Regions from separate parts of the Homo sapiens genome. Here region 1 is linked to region 2. Evidence: promoter capture Hi-C in human tissues and cell types (Jung and others, 2019). All regions are on one chromosome and are shown on one strand. Each heading gives the region's core, a stretch centred on a gene start or on the middle of the fragment in contact. The rest is flanking DNA. Distances are from core to core; before and after follow the strand shown.

What was found. The method cuts DNA at HindIII sites, captures the fragments that hold promoters and counts their contacts. A contact is called where the count stands out against the background at its distance.
Region 1: a contact is called between a fragment that was not itself captured here and the fragment with the promoter of NRG3 in region 2, in 4 of the 25 tissues and cell types used here (adrenal gland, aorta, heart right ventricle and 1 more).

The regions. Positions count from the first base shown.
Region 1 is chr10:81,775,701-81,779,183 of GRCh38, forward strand. No RefSeq gene overlaps it. Among named protein-coding and RNA genes, the nearest start is that of NRG3, 98 kb to the right of the region's middle. The HindIII fragment of the contact is 4,841 bases long and covers 1-3,483 here.
Region 2 is chr10:81,873,251-81,876,448 of GRCh38, forward strand. NRG3 (neuregulin 3) reads left to right here and starts at 1,944. Exons shown (of 9, transcript NM_001010848.4): 1 at 1,944-2,913. The coding sequence starts at 2,091. It overlaps LOC124902549 (a long non-coding RNA gene), which reads right to left and starts at 1,268. Exons shown (of 2, transcript XR_007062377.1): 1 at 1,099-1,268; 2 at 122-251. RefSeq lists an enhancer at 2,893-3,198. The HindIII fragment of the contact is 10,350 bases long and covers 1-3,198 here.

The DNA.
Region 1 (3,483 bases), core at 235-2,734, 98 kb before region 2:
CTAACATATTAGTGCTTAGGAGCAGAGAAAGGTTTGATTTGGCTAAAGTGTGAGGGTGGGAGAGACAAATTTGTCAAATCCAGCATGCCTTTGAATATAACTGGCAGCTCTTATGAGTAAGGTAGGTAGTGGGAGGTGAGATGCCCTGAGGATCAAATCTGCTGTGTCTCTTGGTCCAGTCAAACTTCTGGACAGCATCAAAAAGTCTCCATGACCTAAGAATCATTGTTCTTTGAAAGAAAACCAAGTGCATTACTTTTTCAGGTAGCCACTAGGGGTTAGGATATTGGCCAATTATTCGTGACTACTCTCTACTGAAATGAATATGTGCAAGCAAGCATGCACACAGGAAAAAAAAAGGACAAAGAAAAAGGAGAATAAGTAAAACAAACGTCTTAGATTTTTATAATATAGGCTCAGTAACAATTTTGGAAAGAAATTGAACAGTCTCAAATCACTGTTTGAAAACGAAAGCTAATTTTTCTAAAGAGGAATGAAATCTAGCCAGCCTTGTTCTTGGCTATTTGAACAGTATCTCTCTCACATTCTTTGTTTTTTCTTCCCAGTACACCATCACATGATTCATTCAAGGCTTGCAGCCTCACGCTTGGAACTTATCCGTAGACTCCTACTTCTAGTTTATGAGAAATGTCACTCCATATTCACATTAAAGGTGGATTTTCCCTGTCCATGCCATATATCAGGGAAAAGTACACTGTTTTCTAAATAATATTTCTCTAAGCTCCCTAATTAAAATAGTTTACTATCTGTCATTCTTATTTAAAGAATCATTGGTATCAGTGTATAAAGAAATAAACTTATTTCGCTCACATTAGCTCAAATATGGGCTCCTTAGCAAATGTCTATAGAATACCCATGCTTTGTGTTTTAGTTTACAGATTGTTTTTCATATGTACTACATCATGATGCTTAAGGGTCCTTCTCTGTCTCTGCAATGCGGCTCCTTAGGCCACTGCTCAATGGCATCTCTTTTGAAAGCCCACGCCATGTTCCTCACAACTCTCTCTATACTTCCCTGTTCTACCACCTGGGACACTACTTCACGTCCCTCAAGGACTTTAGCACCTGCCTCCCACCCTTACTTTCCAGCCCATTTGATCTCTGCTATTTTTCCAAGTGACCCACGTCATTAAGGGGGTGTCCCTGCTAACTGTCAATCTCACAGTTCCTGGGTCTCCTCAACAAAAGTCTTCAATTCCATCAGTCCACACCTCTGTGGAGGCATAGCTCTATTTCAGCCTTGTCCTCGCCAAAAACATCCTACATACAAACTTTCTTAAGCAAAGTTTTCCCCTCTGATCAAATCTCAAGCCCAATATTCATTTAGCCATTCACTAATTTATTTACTGTCCCTAATGACTCCCTGCCATGTTTCATCAACCCTAGATCCACTATCAGGCAACTGAACCCCCACTTTCTGCTCATTAGAGTAGGTCCTGCTCGAGTCCTAAGCCCCAAATCTTATTATAAAAATTTAATCACTTTATAACATAGCACTAAAAGCATCTAACTGGTGAAAATTCTTTTATGCTTCTCTCTGATTTTGTAGATTTTGAGATAAGATTTTTAAGGAGAAAAATCCAAGGAAGAATGCACCCATTATTAGTACATGAGGATACTTGAGAATGTTAACATTTTGATAACAGACAGACATTAAGAAAATATTTCATGTTATTTTATCAATGTATTCTAGTAGCCCATGTACAACATGTAAATGAACTCGTAAACATAATTTCCACATTCAAGGGAAATGGAAGACGTAATTTGTTACTTACTGCATAATGGGGAAAATGGAAATTTATAAAACCACCTAAAGAACTTTAAATATATCAGTGCCTGGACCCCATGACATATCAATTAAATCAAAATATCTGTGGAGGGGTTTAGGCATTCGTATTTATTCTAATTTGTACAGGTGAGTTATAAGACTCATCCAGGGTTGAGAAGTACTCATCTATGTAAAAGATCTACTAACTCTGACAGTAGATCGTTCTGAGAACCATCAGAAGCCGTGGCAGTGTTAAGGGTTCACATGTTTATTTTCTATTTCCTGAGATTTAATTTGCCCAGATGGCTTCCTAATTGATTTGTTTTGCTTCAGGTTAGTTGAAAATCTCACTCATTCAAAATGAACCCAAAATGTACCATGCATTTTAATTACTGTGGTGATTTTAGCTTAAATCTAAGCTTTTATCATACAGTGATAAGAACATACAGAACTTCTGCTAATGTGGAATAACACTTGAAAATTAAAATATTGGTTTCCAATTTCAGCTTTTCACACAGAATCGTGATTTTATTGTTTATTAGCTAATGTATTCAGAATGACTCAACAGTAGTCCACCTTTATCTGGGCTTTGCTGTCTGTAGTTTCACTTACCCATGGTCAACTACTGTCTGAAAATATTAAGTAGAAATTAATTAAATGGAAATTTCCTGAAATAAACAACTCATAAGTTGCACACCATTCTGAGTATTGTGACAAAATCACATGCTGTCTACTTTGTAGAGTCACTATTTGTCCAGTGACTTCATGCTGTCTACACCACCTGCCCTTTGTCACTTACTAGCCCTTTTGGTTACCAGAATGACTGTTCAGATAGCCCAATACTTGTGGTCAAGTAACTCTTATTTTACTTAATAGTGGCCCCAAAGTATAATAGTAGTGATGCTGGCAGCTCAGCTATGCCAAAAAAGAAGCTATAATGTACTTCCTTTAAGTTGAAAGGTGAAAGTTCTTGACTTAATAAGCAAAGAATAAAAGACCATATGCTAAGGTCACTAAGCTCTATAGTAATAATGAATCTTCTATCTATGAAATTGTGAACAATATATTGTTATAAGTGTTCTATTTTATTATTAATTGTTATCTCTTACTGAGCCAGTTTATAAATTAAACTTTGTCATAGGTATGTATATATAGAAAAAACATAGTTTATATAGGGTTTAGGATTCAGTATTATTTCTGGTTGCAAGCATCCACTAGGGGTCTTGGGACATATCCCCCCCAGGGAAAGGAGGGGACTACTGTAACTATTTTGTTTTCAAAGAAGCATTCTCAGTTAAGCCTGATGTCGTTTTGTTTTTTTGTTTGTTTGTTTACATTCATCTGTCTTAAACTGTATTTATTGCAGAGGGGATGGAATGGGTGATATACTTTCTAGATTCAAACTTAGGGATTTGATCCATATGTACAGTCAAACCTGCTTATAAATAAGATTGACGAACAGCTCAGGGGTGACTGTTGCAAAGAATATTATCTCATTACAGTGAGATGACCCATTTTATAGTGACATAGTGTATGTATATTTCCCTAGGAACACCAGTTGATCAGGTTACCCCGTAGACATTGCCTGTTCTCACCCCCATGCTTCCAGCCTGCCTGCTATGGAACAAAATAGGACTGACACAACCTGAACATGGCATGAAAGGTCATAGCCTGCATTATATACACAGTAACAC
Region 2 (3,198 bases), core at 694-3,193:
ATTTTTGGAACCATAATTCAGCACTACTAGATTAAGGCATGTTCCATCAAACTAAAAATCAAAAGCTTTCCTATGGGGAAAGTCTCAATGTTATAGCTGAAAGAGGTGACAGCCGCATTACTGCCATCAAAAATAATTTATTAACCTTGTCTGTGCAAAGTACTCTGGTAGGCACCAAACCCCAGGGGCTTCCTGTTTCAATGCATCCTCTGCTCTCTGCAGTCTCTTCAGTGTAACGTTTGGCTCTCCCCCTGTGAATAAAATGGATACCTTGAAAACTTCATCTTTGTGGAGACTATCACAGGACAAGAGAATGCGGGCTCCATCATCCACGCCAATCAGACAGTGCTGGGGGAATGTATTAGAAAGTTGCCTTTCTCAACCTCATATTCTTAACGCTTGTAAATAAAAACCCCTCCTCTTCGGTTTTCACTTTAGACCAGGAAATCTGGGGAGAGTTGGCAAGCAAGGTTTTGCACTGTCGGCATATGTCATGCTAACACTGGCTCTTTGCCCCTTGCCTCGGCAGGTACCACACAGCGCTGGAGAAATAGGTACACAGGTGCCTCCCCAGCCAAGGGAAGAAAGCAGTAACGGAATTTGGGAGTCCAACCCCAAATCCTTTCATATTTACCTCTCACAAACACTTGCCTTGTAACGTGTGTACCTGTGCGTACATTTACAGGTAAAGACAATATTTTAAGGCAAGTTCACATAAATGGCTTGGAGATATCTGACAGGTCTGATTATACAAAGGTCTTCTGCTCCACCTGCATCTCTCAGGAACTCAGGCAAAGGTGGCCTTCCATCCAGCCGCACCGCCATCCGGCAGGGGAGGGCACAGGCACCCTCCCACCCGCATCCGCCCCCGCCCCCTCGCCCAGCAGCGTCAGTCTCTGACCCCACTGGATCCGTACAGGAGACGACTCACAATCGGTCGGAAGCTGCTTTTGCCCCCCCACCCCACCGCAAACGGGGGTTTGCTTGGATCATTTATCTATCTTGTGTGCATTAAGAAACCAGCATTAGCTGCTAGTGGGAGGCGCTACTCTGCCCGAATCCCAGCCCGCCGCGGCGATTCTGCACACACACACGCACCAGCCTGGCAGCCAGAGCCCGTCTGGAGACGCCCTCAGCCCGGGGTCTGCGTTCCCCGGGACCCCCGACGCAGTCTCCCGCTTCCGTCCCCCACGCTCAACCGGGCAGGGCGCCGGGGCGTGATTTCCGATCCTCTGCCTGCTTGTTGGGTCCCTCGGAGGCGGGTCAGACCGCACCCGCCGCGGGCGCCCGGTGCGCCCCCAGCCCCTGGCTCGCGGCGGCGACAGCGGCGCTGTTCGCTGGAGTTTGACTCTCCGGCGGCGGCGGCAGCGGCGCGCAGCAGCGAACGGCTGGAGCAAGGCGAGCCGGGCCGCTAGCCCTCCGCGCTGCGCTGGGATTGGTCTCTCCAGAAGAGTGCTGGCCGAGGGTTGGCTGCGGGCCGGCTGAAGAACAGGTGCACCTCACCGCCCGGGCTCGCGGAGCAGCCGCCGAAGATCGCGGCGGCCAGGCAGGCCCTCTGTGTCGGAATGCGGGTGGCGGGCACCCGGCACCCCGCGACCGGCCGCCGGGGCCACTGAAGGCGGCGCGAGGCCCAGGCGCGGCGCGAGCGGGCGCCCCAGGGAGCGGGCTGGGCGCGGTGCCCCGAGGATGTCGGCGCTCCTGGAGCGCACGCAGGCGGCGGGCAGCAGCAGCAGCAGCGGGCGCGGGGACCCGGCGCGCAGGAGGCGGCTTGGAGGGCTGCAGACGCGCCCCGCCGCTCTCTGACCGACCGGAGGCGCCGGGGGCCCGTCTCGCCCCTCTTCCGAGCTCCTTACCGCCCCCTCCCCGGCCCCGTCCCCTCCCCCGCTCCTCTCCTCCCCGCCCGCCGCCCGCCTCTCGGGGGGAGGGGCGTGGGGGCAGGGAGCGGATTTGCATGCGGCCGCCGCGGCCGCTGCCTGCGCCCGAGCCCGCCGCCGCCGCCGGAGCCCGCGCCCGCGCCCGCGCCCGGCCCGCGCGGCCCCATGCCTCTGCCGCGGCCCTCGGGGGGGCGAAGGTGAAGACCGGCTCCTAGGATGAGTGAAGGGGCGGCCGCTGCCTCGCCACCTGGTGCCGCTTCGGCAGCCGCCGCCTCGGCCGAGGAGGGCACCGCGGCGGCTGCGGCGGCGGCAGCGGCGGGCGGGGGCCCGGACGGCGGCGGCGAAGGGGCGGCCGAGCCCCCCCGGGAGTTACGCTGTAGCGACTGCATCGTGTGGAACCGGCAGCAGACGTGGCTGTGCGTGGTACCTCTGTTCATCGGCTTCATCGGCCTGGGGCTCAGCCTCATGCTTCTCAAATGGATCGTGGTGGGCTCCGTCAAGGAGTACGTGCCCACCGACCTAGTGGACTCCAAGGGGATGGGCCAGGACCCCTTCTTCCTCTCCAAGCCCAGCTCTTTCCCCAAGGCCATGGAGACCACCACCACTACCACTTCCACCACGTCCCCCGCCACCCCCTCCGCCGGGGGTGCCGCCTCCTCCAGGACGCCCAACCGGATTAGCACTCGCCTGACCACCATCACGCGGGCGCCCACTCGCTTCCCCGGGCACCGGGTGCCCATCCGGGCCAGCCCGCGCTCCACCACAGCACGGAACACTGCGGCCCCTGCGACGGTCCCGTCCACCACGGCCCCGTTCTTCAGTAGCAGCACGCTGGGCTCCCGACCCCCGGTGCCAGGAACTCCAAGTACCCAGGCAATGCCCTCCTGGCCTACTGCGGCATACGCTACCTCCTCCTACCTTCACGATTCTACTCCCTCCTGGACCCTGTCTCCCTTTCAGGATGCTGCCTCCTCTTCTTCCTCTTCTTCCTCCTCCGCTACCACCACCACACCAGAAACTAGCACCAGCCCCAAATTTCGTAAGTAAACACTGTGTCTCAACTATGATTTACTACTGAGTTTCCCTTCTGCCCTCCTGCTGTCTTTTTCCCTCGCCGCCTGTTTTCTAGCAAGCCCCCTCCCCCATCCCAGGTTTGGGGCAGAGTGAGAGCTGATTAAAACTGGCCACCAGCGGGGAAGAAGGTGCCAGCCTGCTCTGGTTCTGGGGGGGTGGGGGCGTGTAGGAACGGGAGGGAGATTGTCAGGCTCCACTGGCCCCACTTTAGCGGGTCCCAAGTGAGAACAGATCTCCCAACTCCCTTCAA